Linked DNA regions of Homo sapiens: region 1 is linked to region 2. Evidence: promoter capture Hi-C in 16 types of primary human blood cells and fetal thymus (Javierre and others, 2016). All regions are on one chromosome and are shown on one strand. Each heading gives the region's core, a stretch centred on a gene start or on the middle of the fragment in contact. The rest is flanking DNA. Distances are from core to core; before and after follow the strand shown.

Region 1 (6,533 bases), core at 3,499-5,998, 2.1 Mb before region 2:
GCAACATTGTCCTTTTTTAGCCTTTGCCCTCAAATAAAAAAATTGTTATGTAGCAAAAACAACCATTTCCAGATGATGCAAGAGTTCAAAATGCTGGCCTGAAGAAGTCTATGAAAATGTCAAGTCATGCCTTTGCGAGGAGATAACTACTTGGCATATACCTTTCCCTGAATGATAAAGAAGGAAAGAAAAAATGTACTTCCAGTAAACATATTCATTAGCCACAGAGAGCTGCATATAAACATGATGCTTGGAAAACAAATGCTCTGCAGTAAATGGGAATTGAGAAAATAGGTAATAAGTTGCAAATCTGAAAATCATTTCTTTATTTCAATGTAAGGTAAGTTTATAAACAGTCAGACCAAAAGGTCTGCTTTTAAAGTTTTGCAAATGCTGGTCAGATTGATTAGTCCTTTTTTGAATTTTTTTTTTTTTTTTTGAGACGGAGTCTCGCTCTGTCGCCCAGGCTGGAGTGCAGTTTTTTAATCCTAAAGCTTTTTAATTTAAGGCTTTTTAATTTTCAGTTTGCTTACTCCATTCTTTTGTAAAAGAAAAAAATCACTTTAGATTAAATGAAATTGTAATTAAGGCTTCTACTTCCATTTCTCACCTTACGAGCTTATCTTCTGGATCCCCCACTTAAAAAACAAAGTTCCCTTTTCATTTAAAAATTAAAGAAACTCCTGGGTTAGTACTTAACACAAACAAACTAATAATTACCATGTAATAGAAGCAACAGGACAAGCTCACAGTAATATTACAATGCAGGAGGTAAAAACTTGGGCAACATAGAAAGAAGGCTCCGTTTCTTAGTCTGTAAATGGGGACAATAAATAGCTGCCTCATAAGGCTGATGCTGGGATCAGTCAAATGAGATCATGCAAAGCACCCAGCACTGGCTAACACTCAATAAAAAAATAGCCATTATGATCATTAGGAAGATATAGGAAGAGACTTTTGTCATTGTCACAGTTTAATCTTGAAAAGGAACTTACTGTATGGTAGCATTCTGAGTCAGTTACAAGAGAAAGTAACAAGTGACCTGCATTGCTGAGGATCCTGCCTCCTCCAAGCTACCCTGCTACATTGTTAAAACACCCTGGGGGAGAAAAGTATCCTATTCAGCCAATGTTAAACTGTTTCCTTTTCTGAAAGTTAGAAATAGATGAAAATAGCATAAGAAATAACTCTGTATATAGTAAGTTCTGGGTAAGACAATATTGTGGTAAGTGAACTAAACAAAGATTAATCTGAAATTGGACTCTGATCCCCAAGTGAACCAGCCAGTGTAGCCCAGTCCTTACTGGACCTGAGGAGGAAAAACAAGCCTGTGTCTATCTCAAGCGTGATCTGGCTAGATATGATCTAAACTTTGAAAAGTGCCTAAGCATGTTTCAGATGCATATTATGTGTTAAATACTAAGCAGGGAGCTCTGAGCTGGGGCAGTGCACCCTGATGCTGAGGAACTGACATAGGAAAATGAACACCTAGCATTGTAATTTGGCCTTTTGCTATTTATTTATTTATTTATTTATTTATTTTGAGACGGAGTCTCTCTCTGTGGCCCAGGTTAGAGTGCAGTGGTGCAATCTCGGCTCACTGCAACCTCCGGCTCCTGGTTCGAGCGATTCTCCTGCTTCAGCCTCCTCAGTACCTGGGATTCCAGGCACACGCCCCCACGCCCAGCTGATTTTTGTATTTTTAGTAGAGATGGGGTTTCACCATGTTGGCCAGGCTGGTCTCGAACTCCTGACCTGAGGTGATCCACCTGCCTCGGCCTCCCAAATTGCTGAGATTACAGGCATGAGCCACCACGCCCAGCCTATTCTCTCATTTTAGTCAGACAAGTTTTCTTTTCTGTTAGATCTCTCCCCAATAATTGCAAAAACCAACCAAATAAATAAGTATGGGAGAGAGGTGGTTATTTATATTATGAAAGCATTCTTCAGTTTAATTCATTGCAGAATCTAAGATCCTTTCCTCCACAGTGTTAAAATCCATAGCCCTCTCAATTACTCTTCCACGCTTTGAGGAAAAGGAAGACAGGGAGGAGAGATCTCCAATGGAAATTTCCTTGTTAATAACATCTTATGTTTCTCTAAATGTTTTACAGTTTCAAAGCACTTTCAGACTCACTCTGGTATGTTAGTTAAGCCTTGTGCAAGATACCATAAATCATATTATACTCAATTAAGAGGTGAGAAAAGACAAGGCTCAGAGGTGAAGCAAATATAAATAGTAGTAATTAGTTTTATATATATATATAACTAATATATATAACATTCATATATATATATATATATATATAGAGAGAGAGAGAGAGAGAGAGAGAGAGAGAGAGAGAGAGAGGGCGCAATTGGTACATGTGAGACCTGAAGCCAAGATTTTTAAACTAAGTCCAGTGGCCAAGAAGCTGAAGCAAGTAGCTCACACTCACTGCCTTGGTGTTGCTGTTTTTCCTCCCTTCCGTGATTTGGTTCTAAGCATCTTCCCTTTTTTTTCTCAGTTAATTCTGATTCATGACTTCCCTCATGTAATTAATAAATGGGAAAGACTTGAGTGAACAAATATTCAGCCAACTAGTATTTATTGAGCAACAACTAGAAACCAGAACTTTGAAGGGTTTTAAACAAAGGAAATGGAATCTCTTTGTCATTTAAAAGGCCACAATAAAACAAATAAAAGTAAAAAATAAAAAAGACCATAGTGAGGAGGGTGCAGTGGCTCACGCCTGTAATCCCAGCACGTTGGGAGGCTGAGGTGGGCAGATCGCCTGAGCTCAGGAGTTCGAGACCAGCCTGGGCAACATGGTGAAACTCCACCTCTACTAAAAAAATCCACAAATTAACCAGGCATGGTGGCATGCAACTGTGGTGGTTACAGGTACTCAGGAGGCTGAGGCCGGAGAATCCCTTGAGCCTGGGAAATGGAGGCTGCAGTGAGCTGAAACAGCACCATTGCACTCTAGCCTGTGCAACCAAGCCAGGATTAATAACTTTATTGATGTGAACCAATTATCCAAAAATAATAATCACATATTAGCCATAGCGGACTCCCCAGCTAGATGTTTTCTGCCTGTGTTTGTAAATCCTGGACATAGTTAAATTTCAAGTGCCTTCAATAAGAAATCAATGGCTTGGAAAACATCTCTGCGCAGTCTTGATAAGATTTCTAATTGTGGTGAAGCCTCATTCCTTAAATTATTTATTCAACACTAACCCATTCTACAAACTTACATCTGCTGGGCTCTGGGAGTAACAAGATGAGTTAGATGCAGCAGTCCCAAATCTAAAGGAGGTTGGAGACTAGAAAGACCAGTGCCTGCTCTGAGCTCTCCAGTGGTCCCCAGCCTCTCAGTCAGGCCTCACAGGCCCCTCTGCCAGAGGCGGAACCAGCTTGCCTCCGCTCTGCAGCCACACTGGCCTTTTCTTTCATTTCTGAGAACTCTCCTCACTCCCTCCCACTTTGGGCTCTGCAGAAATCCCAGTTCCCTTTGCCTTGAAAGCTCTTGGTCAATTTAGCTCCTCCTCCTTCAGCCCTCAGCTCCTGCCTTGCTGCCCCAATAATCTTTTTCTGACTGCAGATCTGGTCAAATCTTTGTCTGAAACCTTAGAGCCCATTACATTTGTAGTTTTACGTGTACACGTGTGATCATTTAATATTTGACGGTGTGCTCTCAGGTGCCTACGCTCCTGGAGAGGCAGGGGCTGACTGGTTTTGTTAGATGCCAGTGCCTGACACACAATAGGCCCTCAAGGGGTGAAAAACCAACCAACCAAGTCAGGACCCAAGCAACCTGGGCCTCTGTGGAAGGGCAGAATGGCCTGAGTTTGGGTTTCTCGAGCTACCTTAAGATCAGGCCTCCTGGCTCCTATCTTAGCCCTTCTAACACTCTGAAGTGTAGAGGTTGTTTGTTCCAAGTCCCCAAGGTACTGTAAGCTCCCAGATAGCAGAAATCCCATTATATTTTAGTGCTGTGGCCCCAGCATCCAGCTGCGCTGTTACTTAGCATGAGATCCACATGAAAACCATTTCGCAACTATTAGCCATTGCCAGTATTAATACTTTCCGGAAGGTGGCACAAAGTGGGGGATGTTATAGACAGCTTCAAAGAAACGTTTAAGCTAGAGTTGACTCTTTAAATAATACAAGCCATCCCCAACCAAAGATTAAAAATTTAAATACAAAAAAAAAAAAAGGAAATTTGCCTACCCCCCATTTGTGAAAACAAAGAAAAAAAAAACAGTTAACGTCTTAACTTTTCTAGGCCTTCACTCTCGCCTCTCCCCGCGCTACAAGGGCGAATTCTGGACGTATCTACACAGTCACCGCGGAGTCTGCAATCGCCGCGACGTCCCCTGGCATTTCTTGGCCAGGCTGCAACTTTGGTGACGGTGTATGTAGTTACATCCCCTGTAGTGCAGCTGGTATTTAGGGTCCTCATTGGCAAAGTTGAGGGTATAAGCAGGGAGGGAGGGGACCTTGGCTTCTTTCCATTCACTGGCATGTTTTCGGGGCACGGTCATCCCACGCTGGGCTCCAGCGCCAGTCCCAAGGCCTCGCCGAACTCCAGCCCGGGAGTGCGCGCGGCCCCGCCCACCGGGCGGCCGAGGTCCCGCCCCTACCTCCCCCGCCACACCTACCCACCCACCCCATTGCAATGGTCTCTGCACGCAGGCGCAGTGGCGCGCGGGGGAGGCGGGGCGCATGTGGGCTTCATTTAAACAGAGCAGAGGGGGCGGCGCGCGGTCGCCGCGGTGCTGCTGCTCAGTGGGAGCGGGTCTTCGCAACTGTCTCCGCGTGGCGCGCGCCTCTAGCCGCCCTTCCCCTGGCGGCTACGGCCGGAGGGAGCGGAGGCGAGCGGGAGTCGGGCTCCATGGAGAGCGGCGGACAACTGGGCAGAGGCGGAGCTTTCATCTCGGCACCCTGGTTCCAGTGACCCGCGCTAGCGTCCCGTCCCGCCCGCGTCGGAGCGGCCGCCGGCCCCGGGACTGACCGGCCTCGCCGCACCTCCCGCACCGACTAGCGCTCCCGGGCGCTCCTGCGCCCGACTCGCCCTCGCCCCCACTCCCCGGCGGGGTGGCGGCGGCCGGGCCCCCACGGCGGCGGCCGGAGCAGCAGCAGCAGCAGCAGGAGCCCGCCTCTATGATGAAGTTCAAGCCCAACCAGACGCGGACCTACGACCGCGAGGGCTTCAAGAAGCGGGCGGCGTGCCTGTGCTTCCGGAGCGAGCAGGAGGACGAGGTAGGGCGCCCGGCGCCGCACGCTGCCCTCCGGGGCGCCGGGGTCTAGGGCCCGGGTGCTTCCCCTCGCTCCCCGCCCCTGCGCAGGCTGCGGGGCTGGGAGGGATTAGCCCCCTTCCTCCCTCCCTCCTTTCCTCCCTCACTCCTTTCCTCCCTCACTTCTTCCTTCCTTTCTCTGGGCTGATAGATGAGACAAAGGGGGCTCGCCCAGCCCCAGTTTCTCCATCTGGGCACTCGAGAAGGCGCCTGGTCCCCGGGAAGGTCCCGGGCCGCGTAAGTCTCGCCTAGCGGGAGTCACCATCTTAACGTGCGAATTGAGTTGAAAGCCGGATAAACCTCGAGTGCTCAGCGAGAGGAGGGTGGAAATGGCGTGAGTGTTGCAGCAGAGCCCTTGTGCCTCTTTTACATATTTTCCTTCCATGTTACAGCCGTTTGCGGTCTCGGATTCGATCTAAGCATGTTTGTGGAGTAACAGACAGTCCTCGTGCTTGGAATTGAGTCTAGTCTTGGCAATTCTTGTGGGTCCATGAACCCGCAAGCTGTTGGCATAATTATGCCTCATTTTTAAAACGGCCTTCCCTTCTTAAAGTTTTCTGACTGCAGAAAAATGGTTAGTGAAAAATGTGGAATAATGCCAAAAGGGAGACGATGGACTAGAGATGGGCAAAGCTGCCATTTTCAGACAGTAATCTCCAGCTCTCAGCTTATGTATAAAGGGTTCTTTGCTGTCTGGCTTGACATCTGGAAAGGAGTAGCCTTTCTCGTTCTCAGAGCAGTCGTTCTTGGATAATTTACCCATCTGCATTGGGCTGAGAATGAGACCCTTGGGGTTTCCCTGGAGAGCGATTTTTACTTAATTCAGTAGTATTTATTTAAAATGGCTAACTGTTGAAGTTTGCTTAGGGCAATAGTAGCCTTTTGGTATTGCCACTCTTAAGATAAATTACATAGGTGAAAAAAATTAACATTCTGAGTTCTGCTTTCATAACCAACCGTGTATAAAATACTAGGCTAAGGCTGGAGATGGGAATTTAATGGCTTCCTTACTGCTAGTCCCTGTAGTTGTGATGAATATGACACAGAATACACTCAGTGGCTTAGTTCTTGTTATGTTAACGAAAAGTTCTCGAAATTTGCCCTTCAAACCCTTGTTTTGCCTTTATTTTTTTTTGAAAAGAAACCAAGCCCTTTAAATGGGTTGCTCTGTGCTCACTCATAACCTTTACGTATTAGACTTGAATCCCAAACGAGTGTGCAGAGAAATACGGCCCCAGCCTTTGAGATGGGTC
Region 2 (6,362 bases), core at 2,501-5,000:
GCTCCAACTATTCTTTTGATCTCCAGTTCCTTATAGTTATCCACCTTCTTCACAGCTCCACTTTAATGCCCCAAGACACCTCAGACTCAGCATGTCTCACATCTAACTCATAATCTTCCCTTTCAAATCTGAAATGTTTTTCTATCTCTGTTATTTACATTACATTACCAGTCAATCCAGTTTCACCAGCACACACCGAAGGGGATTCCTTGATATCTTCTTCTCTCTCAAATCCCTTATACAATTCATCACCAAGTCTTGCCCATTTTATCTCCCACATATCTCTTAAATCTATTCATTTTTTTGGTCATACCCATCATCATTCCCTTTCAAGCCACTATAACCTATTGACTGTAATAGCCTCTAAACTGATCTCCCTGCTTTCATTCTGGCCACCCTCAACTCTACTCTGTACACTGCAGCCATGGTGATCTTTTCAAAAATCTAATCATGTTAATTGCAACTCTCATCAGGTTAACTGTCTCCTCACCATTAAAATACTTAAGGGGGCTGGACACAGTGGCTCATGCCTATAATCCCAGCACTTTGGGAGGCTGAGGAGGGCGGATCACCTGAGGCCAGGAGTTTGAGACCAGCCTGGCCAACATGGTGAAACCCCGTCTCTACTAAAAATACAAAAATTAACTGGGTGTGGTGGCGCGTACCTGTAGTCCCAGCTACTCGGGAGGCTGAGGTGGAAGAATTGCTTGAATCCGGGAGGCGGAGGTTGCAGTGAGCCGAGATCATACCACTGCACTCCAGCCTGGGCGACAGAGCAAGACTCCATCTCAGAAAAAAATAAAAAATAAAAATAAAATACTTAAGGGAGGTAGGTGGATCACCTGAAGTCAGGAGTTTGAGACCAGCCTGACCAACATGGTGAAACCCTGTCTCTACCAAAATATACAAAAATTAGCTGGGTGTGGTGGCATGTGCCTGTAGTCCCAGCTACTTGGGAGACTGAGGTGGGATAATTGCTTGAACCCAGGAGGTAGAGGTTGCAGTGAGCTGACATCACGCCACTGCATTCCAGCCTGAGCAACAGAATGAGACCCTGTCTGAAAAATAAATAAAAAAAGTAAAATAAAATACTTAAGAGTTTTATATTGTTCTTAGGACAAAGTATAAAGCCCTTAGTATGATCTAAAAGGCTCTGTCAGCTCTCCTACCCTTTCCTTCCTGCAAGGCTCTTACCTTTCTAGTCTCATCTCATCACACTCACTCCCTTCTCCACCTCTTTGCATTCCAGCCATTCTGGATGTTTTTTAGTTCTTTAAATGTGTTATACTCCCTACTGTTTTACAGATGAGAAAATCAAGGCTCAAAAATATATGGGCTGTCCAGAGTCACAAAATTATAGCCAAATGACCATTCTAGTATTAGAATCCATGTCTCCTCTTAAATACCTCTTAAATTTTTCTTTACCTTCCCTTTGCCAAGAATACTCTGCCAGGCGCAATGGCTCATGCCTGTAATCCCAACACTTTGGGAGGTTGAGGCAGGTGGATCACCTGAGGTCAGGAGTTTGAGACCAGCCTGGCCAACATGGTAAAACCCCGTCTCTACAAAAATTAGCTGGGTGTGGTGGTGGGCGCCTGTAATCCCAGCTACTTGGGAGGCTGAGGTAGGAGAATCGCTTGAACCTGGGAGGCGGAGGTTGCAGTGAGCTAAGATCAGGCCACTGCACTCCAACCTGGGTGATAGAACGAGACTCCGTCTCAAAAAAAAAAAAATACTCTCTCTAAACCTTTCCCCTCCCCTTTGCCTATTTATCCTTCAGATCTCAGCCTAATTGCTACTTCCTCAGGAAACTCTACCAGGCCATCCTACCTAGGCAAGTCCCTTTGTAATATGCTCTCATAGCAGCAGTTGTAAATTTGCTTTTATTAGCATCATTGCTTGATGTCTATTTTTGTTAACTGGCTCTATGATGACAAGGATCATCTCTGTTTTTGCTCTCTAAATATTGCCAGATCTAGGTTTATAGTAGGCATTGAACGAATGGATGGATGAGTGAATAAGTGAATATGTCAGCCAAGCAAAGAGCAGCCCAGATAAAAGTAACAGTGAGTTTGAAATGCTCCAAGGTCAGAAAGAGCTTTGAGAGCTGGAGCTATAATAGTAAGAGAGTGGAGACATTGGAGAAGTAGATATGGCTGGGTCTTGCCGGGCATTTTAAAGGATTTTGGACACATGGAAGCTACTTCTATTTTTATTTTTGTGGTATTATGTTTGGTTTACCAACTTTTTATTTTTTATTTTATTTACTTTTTTGGGGGGGATGGAGTCTCGCTCTGTCGCCCAGGCTGGAGTGCAGTGGCGCAATCTCAGCTCACTGCAACCTCCCCCGGGGTTCAAGCGATTGTCCTGCCTCAGCCTCCCTAGTAGCTGGGACTACAGGCGCCTGCCACCACGCCCGGCTAATTTTTGTATTTTTAGTGGAGACGGGGTTTCACCATATTGGCCAGGCTGGTCTCGAACTCCTGACCTTGTGATCTGCCCACCTCGCCCTCCCAAAGTGCTGGGATTACAGGCGTGAGCCACAGCGCCCGGCCGGTTTACCAACTTTTATATTGCCAGCAATCAACTAGGGAAAACAATTTAAAATCTAAATAGGGATAGATTTAAAGAGATAAAGATCTGTACAAGAATAAGAGGAACAGTTTTTATTACTATTGGATAGGTGCTGCCTGAAGCTTTAAGACAGAGAATGTACATTTATGCAGCTGCAGTCAGAGCCTGTGTGAGGTTTACTGTAAACTCACTGGCAATAAGGCTCTTAACGACATTTTGATGCCCATGAAGCTTGGTGCCTAGTTTAAAACTAATGAAAACACCTAAACTCTCCAGGTGGACAAAGCCATATTCAGGAGAAATTGAGAAGGAGTTGGTGCAGGCAGCCAATCACAATCCACTTACGCCACAAACTAAATCTCAAACTGCGGTTTGAACATGAGGCTCAAAACATAAGAAGTAAAGAAATGGGCAAAATTCAATTAGTTTCTGGTGAAACGTCCTAAATCCAAAAGAAAGGTGACCAGAAATAGAGAAAACGGAGTGTGATCTTTTGCATTAATGAGAGAGACCGTGTCCCCGTGTGTTAAAACCTGTCATTCTTGTCCTGAATTGGAAAGTGAGCGGAGTGTGACGGGTTCCCATCTTGAACCGTCCGGGGTTGAGTAGTACAATAAACTAACACGGAACTCCAGCTTCCAAAATTCTCTCCAGTGCCTACAGAGCCTCGCGGAGAGCTGTGATTGTGAATGTCAACGCAGATTTGATTAAATCTCTTAGATTTAAGAGATATGTGGAGTCATGACAATAGAAATGTGTACAAGTGAACACATTTCTTAGCCCGTTTCCCCACTGCCTGTGTGATTTATAAAAACGCAAATATAAAATATTTCCGTTCCAGCAGAGACGCCGCTTGCTACGGCGGGTTGCCCGTCTCCACAGGTATCTCCGGCTGACTCTAGAGCTCAACTTCCCCTTTAAACTTCACCCTGCGCTTGCCGATTTGCTTCGGGAATGCCCGAGGCACCGGACGAAGCAGTCGGGTCTGGCCCCAGTCGACTCCAGCCAGGCGGGGCTCCAAGCCGAGACTCCTGCACGCCCGGCCCGAAGCTAGCCCGACACCCTCAGCTGAGTCCTCCGCCGTCCCAGCATTCCCTGCGTCCCTACCATCGAGAGCAGCTTCCGGCGTGGCTGGTGTAGGCGGGTGGAGAAGGATCGGGGCCCTCGCCGCTCTGTCTCATTCCCTCGCGCTCTCTCGGGCAACATGGCGGGTGTGGAGGAGGTAGCGGCCTCCGGGAGCCACCTGAATGGCGACCTGGATCCAGACGACAGGGAAGAAGGAGCTGCCTCTACGGCTGAGGAAGCAGCCAAGAAAAAAAGACGAAAGAAGAAGAAGAGCAAAGGGCCTTCTGCAGGTAAAGAGAGTTTTATGTTTTCCCAGTCCCCTCCGGGAACGGCTGAACTGTTTGGCTCAGGCCCGTTGAGGGGGCCGGGACCGGGGCCCCAGAGCCCCGACTAGACTGATTCTTGGGCCTGACAGGGTGGCAAAGCCGGGCTATAGATTCCTAGTCTGAGAAGAGGCGTCATCTCCTCCTGTGGGACTAGAGGGCTGGTGGGGGAGAAAAGAGTGCCTGAGGTTGGCGTGTGGTACCTCTGGGGTCGCTGGGCCCGAGCCCCTGTATTACCAGAACTCAGCTCCCACGCACATCGTGGCACGGTCTTGAGATTGTGCGCAGAGCACAGCCCTACCATCTTTCGCGCGATTTGGCCGCCGCCTCAAAAATCCGATTCTGATCCGTATTGCCGCGTCTTTGCTGGTTTGCTGGAGCAAGCTAGGACTTATTTTCTTTGGGGGTGGGCAAATGTAATGGAGAGCACACCTCCTCCCACTATCCCGTTTCACGTTGGGGTTGTTGCAGCCTGCACTTTTGGGGTGTGTGTACATGTGTGTTTGCCCGCGCGCTCATGTCATTAATTGCAGAATTTGTGGTGGTGATAACGAATTTTCACCTGCCTAATCCCATAGCATCGCCAAGCTTTAGGGCCTTTAGACCTGAATTATGATACCAATTGCAGGCAGTGCAGATAGGATATTCTGTGGCTCAGAATGGAACTTCTGAGGTCTTAACCTCTAAATCCACTGGTAAGGCAAGGAGAACTGCTGAGAGTTTACAGTTGGATATTATGAACTAGGAACTTACATATTTTGAGAAGTCTGTGTTTTTGCTGCACAAGCTCCTTCACCTTAATAAAAATTATTTTTACTTGTTTCTAATTAAAATCGCCAGAGAAACAGAAAATGGAGAAGTCAGAAGCGATTAAGATGGAATTGAGAGAGGTCGAAGAGAGCTAATCTTCATCTTTCTGAAATTTTGATTAGATAGGAATGGAAGGAGAGTTGTAGCGTTGCTGGAACTCTTCCAGAGCAAAATTTGTTACTCTGGTGGCTGTTCCTGGATTTCGAGTGAAATTCAAACACTGCTGTTTGTCTTGTAAGGTGTTAAGCTGACTGATCCTAATGTATTTTTAACAGTTGTATTTCTTAATATGAATTCTCTCCAGTAGCCAGAATGTCACTTCATTTCGTGCTACCTGATACTATTAATGCATGTAACATATTGCTCTTATAGGTAGGTTATAATCACTTCCAGAGCAGGGGCCTGGTCTTGTGCTTAGATATTTGAGCGTTTTAGTTTTTTAGTAATGGACTGTCTTTGCCTATTTATTTTGACTTTACCCAGCCCATCGTGATATCCTTATTCATGAAACCAGGCTGCCCCGGGGTGTTGCACATGAATCTTTTTCCTAAGGCCTTCAGCATTTATTACCTATCTGGTGTTTAAGTATTTGTTAAGTCTAATTGCTGACCACTATTACAAGTTAAACTACTTGAGGATAGAGACCAGTTCACGCTGTTTATCTTTTAGCTGCTAGTGTGTGTAATGGATATTTTGTTGAGTAAATTAATGAATGGACAATACTGTGTAGGTATGGAAGATTTTTCTGTCATTAAACGAATTCTGTTATGTTCACAATAATGTTTCTGTTTTTGTTTCCTGAGGAAAGGATTTGTAAGTTTTCCAAGATCATTAGAGCATATTCTAGTGGGAAAGTGTCTGTATTAGATTTGATTTCTGCTATTTTATTTTGATCAGCAGGGGAACAGGAACCTGATAAAGAATCAGGAGCCTCAGTGGATGAAGTAGCAAGACAGTTGGAAAGATCAGCATTGGAAGATAAAGAAAGAGATGAAGATGATGAAGGTAAATGGTTAATTTGATCTTTGTGGTTAGAAAAGCTAGAAAATGTAGCCGGGTGTGGTGGCACACACCTGTAATCCCAGCACTTTGGGAGGTCGAGGCGGGTGGATTACATAAGGTCAGTAGTTCGAGACCAGCCTGGCCAACATGTTGAAACCCCATCTCTTCTAAAAAGACAAAAAAAAATTTAGCCGGGTGTGGTAGCACACACCTGTAATCCCAACAACTTGGGAAGCTGAGGCAGGAGAATTGCTTGAGCCCGAGAGATGGAGGTTGCAGTGAGCTGAGATTGCACCACTGCACTCCAGCCTGGCCAGCAGAGTAAGACTGTCTCAAAAAAAAGAAAGAAAGAAAGAAAGAAAGAAAAGCTAGAAAATGTGATATTCCTTAATCAAAATTTATTTACTCGTATAGTGTTTTCTCTGACATTTCACTTGTTACCTCAATTAATGTCACAGATTAAAAAGGAAAAGGTATTTATTAGCAAGTCTTGAAAAAGTTCAATGTGTTAATTAGCTGTTCAGATAGGACAGATCTCAGAGTTTAAAAATATACTTGGTAGAAGGCAAAGTAGTGAGTATTAATAAG

What was found. The method cuts DNA at HindIII sites, captures the fragments that hold promoters and counts their contacts. A CHiCAGO score of 5 or more calls a contact.
Region 1: the fragment with the promoter of NUDT4 here is called in contact with the fragment with the promoter of METAP2 in region 2 in 2 of 17 cell types (non-activated CD4 T cells and total CD8 T cells); the score reaches 8.6 in non-activated CD4 T cells.

Annotation. Positions count from the first base shown.
Region 1 is chr12:93,373,177-93,379,709 of GRCh38, forward strand. It overlaps NUDT4 (nudix hydrolase 4), which reads left to right and starts at 4,749. Exons shown (of 5, transcript NM_019094.6): 1 at 4,749-5,245. The coding sequence starts at 5,147. LOC643339 (a long non-coding RNA gene) reads right to left here and starts at 4,560. Exons shown (of 5, transcript NR_040096.1): 1 at 4,261-4,560. RefSeq lists an enhancer at 4,345-5,284 and silencers at 4,521-4,860, 5,081-5,380. The HindIII fragment of the contact is 6,665 bases long and covers 493-6,533 here.
Region 2 is chr12:95,470,402-95,476,763 of GRCh38, forward strand. METAP2 (methionyl aminopeptidase 2) reads left to right here and starts at 3,751. Exons shown (of 11, transcript NM_006838.4): 1 at 3,751-3,929; 2 at 5,670-5,777. The coding sequence starts at 3,779. RefSeq lists an enhancer at 3,568-3,967. The HindIII fragment of the contact is 1,745 bases long and covers 2,804-4,548 here.